4 separate regions of the Homo sapiens genome follow, and all the other regions are linked to region 2. The links are contacts of gene promoters, found by promoter capture Hi-C in human tissues and cell types (Jung and others, 2019). All regions are on one chromosome and are shown on one strand. Each heading gives the region's core, a stretch centred on a gene start or on the middle of the fragment in contact. The rest is flanking DNA. Distances are from core to core; before and after follow the strand shown.

Region 1 (2,754 bases), core at 131-2,630, 330 kb after region 2:
GTGGATTCTGTAAGGCAGTTGTTATTATGCAGTATAGGTTAGGGTGCACTGTGGCAGAAAAATTAACCCTGAAATCTTCGTGATTTACTGTAACAACAGTTTCTACCTCCCTCACACAAGTTTGGTGTGGGTTGGGTGGCTCTCCAGGGCAGCTGAGCTCTGGGAGGTTGCTGAGTGCTCCAGGCCGCATCTGTCTGGTGCTCCACCTTCTCAATGTCCAGCCTCCAGGATCACCATGGCCGTGCAGCCGAAGGAGAGAGCTGGGGGCTGGCCCGTCACTCTAAAGTGTGTGTCTCACAGAGGCCTCGGTGGCTCCCACTCACAACCTACTGGCCAGAGCTCCTCAGGTGGCCTCACCTTCCTGCGGAGGCCGGGAGGCGGGGGGTGGGGAGCACGTAGATTTATCACGATCAGTGTCACTATCAGTCTTCCTGTTTTCCCACCTCTGCTCCTTGTCCTTTCTGTCTGACGTCCAGGAGTGTTCCAGATCTTAACCACCGTCTTCCCAAACTGGTCACAAGGGTGACAGCACCTTCTAGTACTGTGGTTTAAGAGCATAGTGTCACCTGTTGTTACTGCTTTCCAGCCATCGGATTTGCGACAGTATACTTAGTCCCTCTTGCGTGAGTTTCCTTATTGATGACATGGAGACAATAGTAATAGTACCCAAACTAAGAAGGTGTTTGTGATGTTTAAGTGAGAGAATACATATGCAGTGGTTAGCACAGTGCCTGCTCATGCTCAGACTCCATGGATTGGTAAATTTATCTTAATGCTAGCTGGATGAATTCGAGCATGAGTACAGATTGGCAGACATCCACAGCTGGGATACTGTGGGAAGCGATGACAGATACAGATGCTGCTGCATGCGAGTAGAGCAGAGGGTGCTGTTGACCTTCTCATGGGTGCCATCTCTTCCCATGGGTCAGAGTCTGGCTGCCACTTGCTGTGGGCAGGTCCCTTGGGAAAGGGAGAGGCAGAGAGAGAAGAGCCATCCTGGGCCAGGCAGTGGGCCCTGTGCCAGGAGTCTTTAGCTGGATCCTCCCCATGGGTCCATGGGGAAGGTGGTGGCCCCACCTGCACTTTATACACAAGGAACCTACGTCTTAGAGATGGCAAGGCACGTGCCCAAAGGCACACAGCTGGTAAGTGTGAAGCGAGATTTCAAGCTGGCCTTTCTGACTCCAGACCATCCTTGGGCCCAGTTCAGGAGTCCCCAGAGGGAAGTGGCTGCTCCCCCAGTTCCAGGGAGTGATTTCCCCTGTCTGGGAGAATCTTGAGTTACTGTTGCAACACTTCCTTGCTGTGTCCTGATGCCTCGGAGTGCTTTTCCTCCCTCCATTTATCTTCCTTCTGACTGATTTACTGTTTTTCTGATACATCATGTTTGGTTATGTTTATCCTGAAACCACGCTAACCAGACAGTTGAAGTATTTGTGTTCTGTTTGAAACAACAGGCATGTGAAACTATTGAACCTTCCTGCTAGCCTCCGGCCACACAAAATGAAAAGCTTGCTGGGTCAGAACGTGTCAACCAAAAGTCCTTTCATCTATTCACCAATTATCGCACACAACCGTGGAGAAGAGCGGAACAAGAAAATAGGTAGGACGTCGATCCTGGCTTTCCCACCGTGCTCTGCCACCTGATTTCCAATGGCTTTTCTAGATTTTTAGAACAGCATTTTGAGCCAGTTCATGCATGTGCATGTGTGTGCGTGCGTGGATGTGTGCACGCATGCATATGTGTGTATATGTGTGTGCATGTGTGCATGCATGCATATGTATGTGTGCATGCGTGCATATGTGCGTGTATGTGTGTATGCATGCGTGCGTGCATGCATATGTGTGTTTACATGTGTCCATGTGTGGATGTGTGCACAGATGTGTGCGTGTGTGTGCGTGTGTGCAGTCTGTCATGGAAGTTTATTTGATTTGCTGCTTTTGGCAGGCAATTGCCCATAGATGTGATTTTAAAAAATTTATTTCATATAAGGTAATTTTGTGAAAGTTCTGGAAACCAGAAAGACTTTTGTTAACTGAGACTTATGTGAACTACAGAAGAGTGACAGTTGGAGATGTAGACTGATTTTACAAGGGCTGAAGTGACTTCTGAGTCATCAGAGAAAGATTCAGGGTTGGATGGTGTTCAGGACTGAGTGGAGGGTGAGGTAATCGTGTTATGTTCTTTTGTGAACACAGGTGATCAGGATAGTCAGTCCTGGGTTAAGCTGTGTTGTGGGAGAGACTGGGAGTGGACAATCTCTCCTGAGCTTTCCTGTGTCTGAGCTCTCGTCCCTCCTGCACCAGGGCTCAGCATGCACCACCGGCCCTGTCCCTTGGTGTCCTTCCCAAAGCCCGGCTGTAGTGCCAAGCTCCCCATCCCTTGCTGCCACAAAGACATGCCCGAGGCCCCTTGCAGGAGATTGTGACTGCCAGTCACTGGGGACCACTGCCGGCTGAGCCCACACGTCCTGTGACAGAACCTTGAGGGCCTGGAGGCTGGCCGCTGCTTGGCGACTGCCGGGGCCTCCGAGGAGTGTGAGCGGGAGGCCTGCGCAACCGCGGCGCTCTGTGTTTGATATCCAGTGCTTTCTTCTCCTTCTGTTTCTTTATTTCTACTCTTAATTCCTGTACCTCCAATTTAGGAAGAAGGCATTCCGGCTCCTTTTTCCACCATGCTTTTCTTTCCAGGACAGAGGCTTCCTGTTGCACTCGCAAGCTCACCCACACCCCGAGTTACGGACTGCAGGCGCT
Region 2 (2,782 bases), core at 62-2,561:
TTTTGCCTGTTTTGGAATTTTTGTGAATGGCTAGATTCCATCCTGTGAATATGAGCACACTGTTTCTCCATCCTGCTCTCCGTGGGTATTCAGTGCCATGCAGTCCAAGCGGTGATGAAGAATGCCATGCACACTCCTACCCAGGTTTCCTGGTGTTCATTACTACACATTTCAGGAGCACGTTTTGTATCGGCAACTTGGTGAAGACTGATGTCCTTTTGAGTTTTCGGAGGAAGTGCTGGTTCTCCTGCCCTTCTTCAGGGCTGTCCTCCGAGACTGCAGAGAACTAGTGACCACCCTGCTGGCTGCGGAGCTCCTGTCAGTCAGAACTCCTGTTTATTCTCCGCCCGGAACAGGGCCTTGCACCCATATGCAGACAGCCGATGCCACGGGGTGAAGGAATGCTCCGGGAAATCTGGGAAAAGGCGACCAGGCACTTTAGATTGTGGGTCAACCTCTGCCTTCTAATCCTCCATCACTTAGGGGAGAAAGGAGGTAGCCACAGGCTGGCTTTTCCAGGAAAGCCTCCGAAAACCAGACGGACCCAGAGGGACCGGACAGAAACGCTCGGAGGTGCACGACGGTCCGAGCAGGCCCCTGACTGCTGGAATGGGCGTGTCCGCTGATCTGATCCCTGATACCAGCTACAGTTTACTAAAAACTTCTTAGATTTTCTCAGTGCTTTAAACGGATTATCTGGGTTCTGGGGCCGCGCCGGGAGGTGGCGGTGTGGTCCTGCGCGAGCGGCCGGCCGCGTTCAAGTTCAAGCTCCGGGCTGGGAGGGAGCTTCCCGACCTCCGTGTTTCTGTAGTAACTTAAAGAGCCAGGCTGGGGGCCGAGGGGCTGAGGGTGGGAGGGTTCTGCGCCCCCCACCGGGGGGCGGCGGGGAAAGCGGGGGCGCGTGGCCTCCCCTCCGGCTCCGGCGGCACAGCCGGGGGGCCCGGCTCCTCCCCGTCGGGAAGACGCGGCTTCTCTGGGTGGCAGTGAAGGGTCCCCGGGGCCGCGCCCGCCCCCGCGCCACACGGGCCGCGCCGCCCTCGGCCCTCGTCCCCGCTCCCGCCCGCGGTTCCCACCGCCCGGCGAGGTCTCCGGGCCCCTCCCCGGGTCCCCGCCCCAGGCCCCGCCAGACCCGGCGCCGCCGCCGCCGCCGCCGCGGACCCCGCCCGCGCGCCCAGCCCCGCTCCCCCCGCGAGCGCGCTCCCGCCGCCGGCCTCGCCTCCCCTCCCCCTCCCTCCTCCTTCCTCCCCCGCCCCTCCCGCTCCCGCTCCCGCCGCCGCCTCCGCCCGCCGCCCCGGCCGCGTCGGGTAAACCTGTTTGGCGAGGCGGCCGCGCCGGGGCGGATCGTGCGGCCGGCGGCTCCCTCGCGGCTCGCGGCGTCGGGGCCCGTGGCGCGCGCGCGGCCGCCCCTCGGCCCCGGAGCCCCTCGGCGGCGCCACCATGTACTCGGGAGCCGGCCCCGGTGAGTCCTGGCGCTCGGGGCGCCCGCCCGGCCGTTCGCGCGCTCCTGCCCGTGGTTGGCGGGCCCGGCGCGGGCGGCAGGGGCCGGGGATCGGGGGGCCGCGGGGTCGGGGCGGCGGGGGCCGGGGGCGGGCGAGCCGGGGCCGCGCTTGGGGGCTCGAGGAGCGGCGGCGGCGGGGCCGAGCCGGCCGTTTTCTCGGCCCCGCGTTGGACGCGCAGCCCCGGCCTCCTCGGCCCCCGCGAGTCGTCGGGGCGCCCCGCGCGGCCTGGGCCCCTCCCGCGCCTCGGGCCCGCGTCCCAGCGTCCTCGCATCCCCCGCCCGGGGCCCGCGGGCTGGGGCCGGGGCCGAGGCGGCCGCCGCGTGTAGGCCCGAGGCCCGGAGCGCCCCGCTTGGCCCGGCCTCGCTGCCCGGGCGGGGATGGGGGCGCCGCAGCCCGGCCCGGCCTGACCCTGAGCGCCTGAGCGGGTGGAGGCCGGGTCGGGGCGCCCGGCTCGGGGCGCGCACGGGCGGGAGGGGAGGGGGCTGCGCCGGTCCCGACCCCAGCCGCGGTGAGTCTGTGGCGCGCTCCGTTGTGGCCCTTCTTGTTGCCGGCACTTCTTCGGCCCCTTTTCCCAAGGAAAGTCTGGAAATGCTGAATTTTGGCCAATTCCTGTAGTTAGGGCTGTCGCCTGGAAAGGGGAGGACGCGGCTCCCCGGAACCCTCAAACTGCGTGCGCGGCTCGTTCTCATTCCAGACACGCCGGCCTCCCCATTCAAGTGCTAATTCCTTTTACAATTTCCTAGGAGAGGTGAGGCGAGGTGGATTCCTGTAGCACCCCTTGTTGCTAGTCGGCCTTTCTCTGGAAAAGTTCTAAAAAACTTAAAGCGGTAACGCGTTGTTTTTCTTTTTAAATGCAGAGTAGAAGGCGGTCTCCTTGGTGGGCCAAAAAAACGGTCAGGTGTTCTCCTGCTTTTGGCGTGCTCCCACCGGGCACGTGGCTCCTGGCTCTCTCGGCCGGCCTGGCCGCTGGGACGGGGCACCGCCTGCTCCCCTTTGTCCGCTGGGCCCCAGCCGGGCCGCAGGCGGCGCAGGCCCCGCCGGGCTCTGGGCTTATGTTTACCCGGCCGGGCGAGGAGGCTCGCATTCCCGATGCTGCCCTCGTTGCTGCAGACCGGCCCCAAATTGTGGGGTCCGGAAGGCCCCCTGGCCCACCTTGGTCCGTTGATGGTGGCCCCCACTGCTGGAGCTGTTGGCTCTGTGCCTTGCGAATGTCGCGTCTTTTTTCTGATGTCATTTAGAAAGCTTCAACAAGGCGGAGTCTGACCAACTTTTCAACCCCTGAG
Region 3 (2,700 bases), core at 27-2,526, 420 kb after region 2:
AGCCTTCAGAGCTGCATAGAGATGTGGGAGCCAGCTGAGACCTGGAGGATAAAGCATTCCAAGTGGCTGGAACGACTGTGAACAGTCAGGGAGCGGACACCAGCATGCACGGCTGCAGCCATTTATCGTGGTGTGCTCTCTGGCTCTGAATAGATTCTACTACCCTCCATGTGCAATACTGCTCTGTAAACACTCCACACCTGCTTATAGCTTGCTGGAAAGCAGTTTTGAAATCCTAACGAAACTAGTTTGCCAGGAGGCGGGGCCAGGCCTCCCTTAAGCTCTGTGCATGGTTGGCTTTGGGGAGCCTGTTGGTTCCTGCTCCCCCTTGTCAACATCTTATCTCTTAACATTTGAGCAGGTAGGTGTAATAGCTGTAGCTTCATTCATGGGAAGCTCCTGTGGGAGCCAGAGGTTGTGCTTCACTTTAAGAAATTAGAAAAAAAAAATGTAGATTAAACCCAAAGTCAGTAGAAAAGGAAATAATAAAGATCAGAGTGGAAAACAATGAAATAGGAAACAGAAACCCAACATAGACAAAGCAACCAAAAGCTTATTTTTGGAGAACAGTTAATGAAATTCATCAGCTTCCAGCCAGATTGATCAGAGAGAAGACACAAATTAACAGTATTAGAAATGAGAGAGTTGGCATAACACAGATTTTATAGATATTAAAATGATAAGAATATATTATAAAAAGTTTATGCTAATAAATGTGAAAACTGAGATGATGTGACAAATTCCTTAGAAGACACAAAATACCAATGCTTACACACAGATATAGACAACCACAATAGACATAGCCACTTAGGAAACAGAATGTTTTGTTAAAACCTTCCCATATGAGATCATGAGGGCTCAGAAAGAAAATTGAAATGGAAAATATAATAAAATAAAAAAGTCAACAAAAAAGAAGATTAGAAAGTAAAAAAACAAAAAAACAAAAAAACTTTTTTTTTTTTTTGAGACAGAGTCTTGCTCTGTCACCAGGCTAGAGTGGTGCAGTGGCACGATCTTGGCTCACTGCTACCTCTGCCTCCTGGGTTCAAGCGATTCTCCTGTCTCAGCCTCCCAAGTAGCTGGGACTACAGGTGTGCGCCACCATGCCCAGCTAATTTTTATATTTTTTGTAGAGACCATGTTGGCCAGGATGGTCTCGATCTCTTGACCTCATGATCTGCCTGCCTCGGCCTCCCAAAGTGCTGGGATTACAGGTGTGAGCCACCATGCCCAGCCAAAAAAAACTTCTTAAAAAAGACAAAAGAAAAAAAACGCCTTCCCATAGAGAAAATTTTGGGGCCAGATGGCTTACTTATGCATCTTACCAAACACTTAAGGGAGAAATAATATGAAATCTATGTAGACTCTTCCTTCAGGAAACCTAAAAATGAAGGAATACTTCTTAAGTCATTCTGTGAGGTCAACATTTCTCTGATACCAAAACCAGGCAAAGAGATCATGGGGGAAAAAAATCCCCAAAGAGTACAACCCAAAGCACTACAGACCAATATCCCTCCTGAACACAGATGCAAAAATTTTAAGCAAAAATTGAGCATCTACTATTTAACCCTATGTAAAATATTGACGGACTGGGGTTTATCTGGGGAATGCAAGGTTAGCTTAACATGAGAAAACCTGCAAATGTAATTCTGCATATTGGCAAACTGAAAATGGAAAACTATGTATGCCATCTCAAGAGACAGAAAAAGCGTTTGATAAAAACCCAGCATCTATTTAGAATGAAAACTCTCAGCAAATCAGAAACAGGATGGAGCTTCCTCTGCCTGATGAAATGCATCTACCAGCCCTGGGCAGCTACCCCTGTCCTTCACCATGAGAGGTGGCCTGCGCTTGCCTGAGGCCAGCCATCCGCATCTGCTTACCTGGCTGGATGAGGCGTGTCTTCTTGCATTGCTGGTCCTGAGCGCAGGCTCTTTGCTTGGCTGGGCCTTCTTGCTCACTTCCTTTCATTCATGGCATGCTCCTCTGTCCTCCTGGGTGAGCTCTGAGGTCACCTGGTCTGCTGAGCCTTCCTCCGCAAGTGGCACACCCAGAGTCAGGCCCTTCTTCCTGTGTCCTCGTCTGCTGTCCGTTCCCACCTGGATGGTAGCACCTCCCACACTGTTACTGTTGTCCTTTGCTTATATTGCTGAGCTCCCCATCACTGTAAGCGCCTCGTGGCCATGGGCTTGTGAAGCATGCCTTCTGTACACATTTCTTGACCCGGATATTCCAGACAGTGAGGCCAGACAGCCCCTCTCCATGGGGTTGCCTGAAGATTCTCTTCATTAGTGAGGCAAAGCAAGGCAGTAAAGTATGTTTTATCTCATTCGATCAGAATAAAGCTTAACTCTGGGTTTTTTGGGATTCTAACAACATTCAGATACGTCATGTAAAATACGTTACTTTAGCTTTTAAAATAAAGAATTGTGGGATGTTTATGAAGTTTCTATATACTTTTATATTTTTTTCTTAAGAGACAGGGTTGTGCTCTGTTGCTCAGGCTAGAATGCAGTGGTGTGATCACAGCACACTGTAGCCTTGACCTCCTGGGCTCAAGTGATTCTCCTGCCTCAGCGACTCAAGTAGCTGGGACTACAGGTGCGTGCTACCACACCTGGCTAAGTTTTGTATTTTTTGCAGAGACAGGATTTCAACATGTTGCCCAGGCTGGTCTCGAACACCTGGGCTCAAGTAATT
Region 4 (2,824 bases), core at 303-2,802, 270 kb after region 2:
ATTTTCCATTATTTTGTGAAAGAGGCTAGAGAAAGAAGGTGACTGGCTGAGATTAAAAATGATAAATGTCAGCTGGCTGTATGTTTAACAAAACACAAAAGTCACTTTAAACCCCATCTCCACTGTGGCTCTGGACTGCTTTAAACATCTCCCAGAGAATTTAATGGAAGTCTACTAACACCCTGTACCTGTAAATAAAAGGCAAATTGTCTGTATTCTCAGGTCCCAAAATGTATTCTTTTTCTTGAAATGAACATTTGCACTAGCTGGTTATAGACGGTCGAGGAAGGAACACTGATGTGTGCTGTGTGTACTTGCCGGCTTAAGGGGCCGCTTAGTATCATTTAAATCTTATTTGTGTTGCTGTATATGAAGATTTTTGATCATGCCTTTTCCTGGACGAGGGATTAAATTTTGCCCAGGAACTCTTATGAAAGAAAGAGACTGCTAAGGCAGATGGATTTGCTAAAAGGCAATAGTTCATATACAAAATAAACCTCCAAATTGGTGAAATTTTTGATTACAAGAGTATTGAAAATTTTATCACTGGGTCATATGCTGCAAATCTGCCTTCAGAAAAATAATTCACATTTTATAGGGAGAGCACTTTGAGCCACATAGAAATTATGACTTGTACACTATTTACTGTTAAGAAAATGTATACTCGGTCTTACTCATAATCGCCCGTGGTAGGAACTGGATCATTATCTATTTTTAAAAGAATCAGCAAAGTGATATTTGCCCAATTCTTATGTGAGAAAACCTTCTGGATATGGTAGTGTTGAGATTAGTTAAATTGGGTCTTTCTGAATTCATGGCTAGGTTAGTCATGACATTGATTTCAGCTTCATAATCTTTAAAAAAATCTCTTCTTCATTTTGGCATTTGGTCTTGGCTTCTTTTGACAATGTGGAATATTGCAGGGACTCGTCTTTCTCTCCTTTCCTGCAGTTGTATGAGAAGTACTACCATTTTATATTCCAAAAGATGTCGGGAAGATAAACTACTAAGATATAAAGTAGTGTTTTTTTTATTTTTATTTTTATTTTTTTTTAAGTGTGTGTATGGTCAGCTCCAAGGATTTCAATGAGAAGTTATGGAGAAATACTTTAAATATATACAAATTAGAGAGGATAGAATAGAATATTGTGTCCATTGCCCAGATTAAATCATTATCAAAATTTGACCACATTGGCTTTATTTTTACTTTATTGGTTTTTTTGTTGAAGTATTTAAAGCAGATCCTAGAAACCACATCACTGTACTCCTTCATAGCTGTATGCACGTCCGCAACATGGGAGGGTTTCCTTTCACCAGCCTTACGTCTTGATCCACGTGTGTGTTAAGTACCAACTTTGTTATCAGGCACCCTGCCAGGCATTAAGGACACTTGAATGGATAAGACATAAACCTGCCTCCCAAGGAAATTAAGGATTGATGAGAGAAACAAAGACATGAGATTACAGGTGCCTTATGGTACCTGCCAGATAACTCCTGTGGGCTGAAATTTGTGCAAAATACAGCGGAAATACAGAAGAGGGACTGGTCAGCTGTGCAGGGCAGAGTGCTGAGGGAAGAGCTCAGGAAGGGCTGTGAGCGGTGGAACCCTTGGAGCAACGTCTTCAAATATCAATGGGCAAACAGAGAAAGGTTAGGATAGAAGGAAGGGCCCCTGCTATTTGCGTTAGGGAGGAGGCATCCCTTCTTGTTCTGTTTGCTCGCCAGTCAGCCTCAGCCGAGCGCCCAGTCTCACGTCAGGCCCTGTCCTGGGGATGCAATAGTAAGTAACGCACAGTCTTCAGGTACAGGAAGTCATACCTGAATGGGGGATTTTGACACACAAGCAGGTAATTTTACTTAATAAATAATCTCAATAGGGATTTAAAAAAATGGAGGACTCATTCTTAGTGAAACAGTGGAACAGGTTGGATCATTAATCATGTCACAGCTAGAGTCAAAGGTTGACCTGTGTGTTAACCACATTATATTCATTGAATAATAATATTAATAGCAACTAGCATTTATTGAGAACTTATGATAAATAAACTGCTGAAGTGCTTTAAATGGGTTATTGCACTGAAGCCTTATAACTTTAACTTGTACTCCGACTACTGTCTCCGTTTTACAGTTTGGCGTGGCCCCCTTCTCATCGAGGGTTCACCCCAGATGTCACCTCCTTGCCCACCTGCCCTGGCTGACGCAGCATCTCTCAGCCCCATCAGCCCTCACTATTACTGTTTGTGTTCGTCCCAGCATCCACCAGCATGCTGTTTCCCAGGGCTGAGGCCTGACTCTTCCCACAAGAGTGTCAATGGCACGAGAACCTGCCCTGCACAGTATTGTGTTCTCAGTAAATACTTGTTAACCAACCGACTGTCGTGAGCTATTACGGACTTTCAGTGCGTGGCAGTTTTGTCAGAGTTTGAATGTGCATTTATGCGTTTTTTCATGGTCTAAGTTTTGGATCAGCTGGAGCAGTGATTAGCCAGTCTGTGTGGTTGGTTATCAGAGCCATTGGCAGGGTGTGTGTGTTAACACAGATTGGCTGGGAGCAGTGGCTCATACCTGTAATCCCAGCACTTTGGGAGGCCAAGGTAGGAGGATGGTTCTAGGTCAGGAGTTCAAGACCAGCCTGGGCAACATGGGGAGACCCTGTCTCTACTGGAAAAAAAAAAGTAGTTGGGCATGGCGGTGTGTAACTGTAGTCCCAGCTACGCAGGAGGCTGAAATGGGAGGATTGATTGCTTGAGCCCTGGAGGTCCAGACTGCAGTAAGCTGTGATTGCACCACCACACTCCAGCCTGGATGACAGAGAAAGACCTCA

Evidence for each region. Contacts are between HindIII fragments. The study calls those that stand out against the background at their distance.
Region 1: a fragment that was not itself captured here is called in contact with the fragment with the promoter of AGO2 in region 2 in 1 of the 25 tissues and cell types used here (mesendoderm cells).
Region 3: a contact is called between a fragment that was not itself captured here and the fragment with the promoter of AGO2 in region 2, in 1 of the 25 tissues and cell types used here (hippocampus).
Region 4: a contact is called between a fragment that was not itself captured here and the fragment with the promoter of AGO2 in region 2, in 1 of the 25 tissues and cell types used here (mesenchymal stem cells).

Annotation. Positions count from the first base shown.
Region 1 is chr8:140,299,318-140,302,071 of GRCh38, reverse strand. It overlaps TRAPPC9 (trafficking protein particle complex subunit 9), which reads left to right. Exons shown (of 23, transcript NM_001160372.4): 11 at 1,458-1,603. Among named protein-coding and RNA genes, the nearest start is that of TRAPPC9, 160 kb to the left of the region's middle. RefSeq lists enhancers at 2,018-2,518, 2,519-2,754. The HindIII fragment of the contact is 8,746 bases long and covers 1-2,754 here.
Region 2 is chr8:140,634,162-140,636,943 of GRCh38, reverse strand. AGO2 (argonaute RISC catalytic component 2) reads left to right here and starts at 1,311. Exons shown (of 19, transcript NM_012154.5): 1 at 1,311-1,459. The coding sequence starts at 1,438. ERICD (E2F1-regulated inhibitor of cell death) reads right to left here and starts at 2,709. Exons shown (of 1, transcript NR_170171.1): 1 at 1-2,709. RefSeq lists silencers at 747-1,146, 1,797-1,966, 2,450-2,499 and an enhancer at 2,306-2,782. The HindIII fragment of the contact is 25,430 bases long and covers 1-2,782 here.
Region 3 is chr8:140,211,335-140,214,034 of GRCh38, reverse strand. The region is part of intron 17 of TRAPPC9 (trafficking protein particle complex subunit 9); the gene reads left to right. LOC124902029 (a long non-coding RNA gene) reads right to left here. Exons shown (of 2, transcript XR_007061118.1): 1 at 1,884-2,700. Among named protein-coding and RNA genes, the nearest start is that of PEG13, 110 kb to the right of the region's middle. The HindIII fragment of the contact is 6,293 bases long and covers 1-2,700 here.
Region 4 is chr8:140,360,756-140,363,579 of GRCh38, reverse strand. The region is part of intron 8 of TRAPPC9 (trafficking protein particle complex subunit 9); the gene reads left to right. Among named protein-coding and RNA genes, the nearest start is that of TRAPPC9, 96 kb to the left of the region's middle. The HindIII fragment of the contact is 7,619 bases long and covers 1-2,824 here.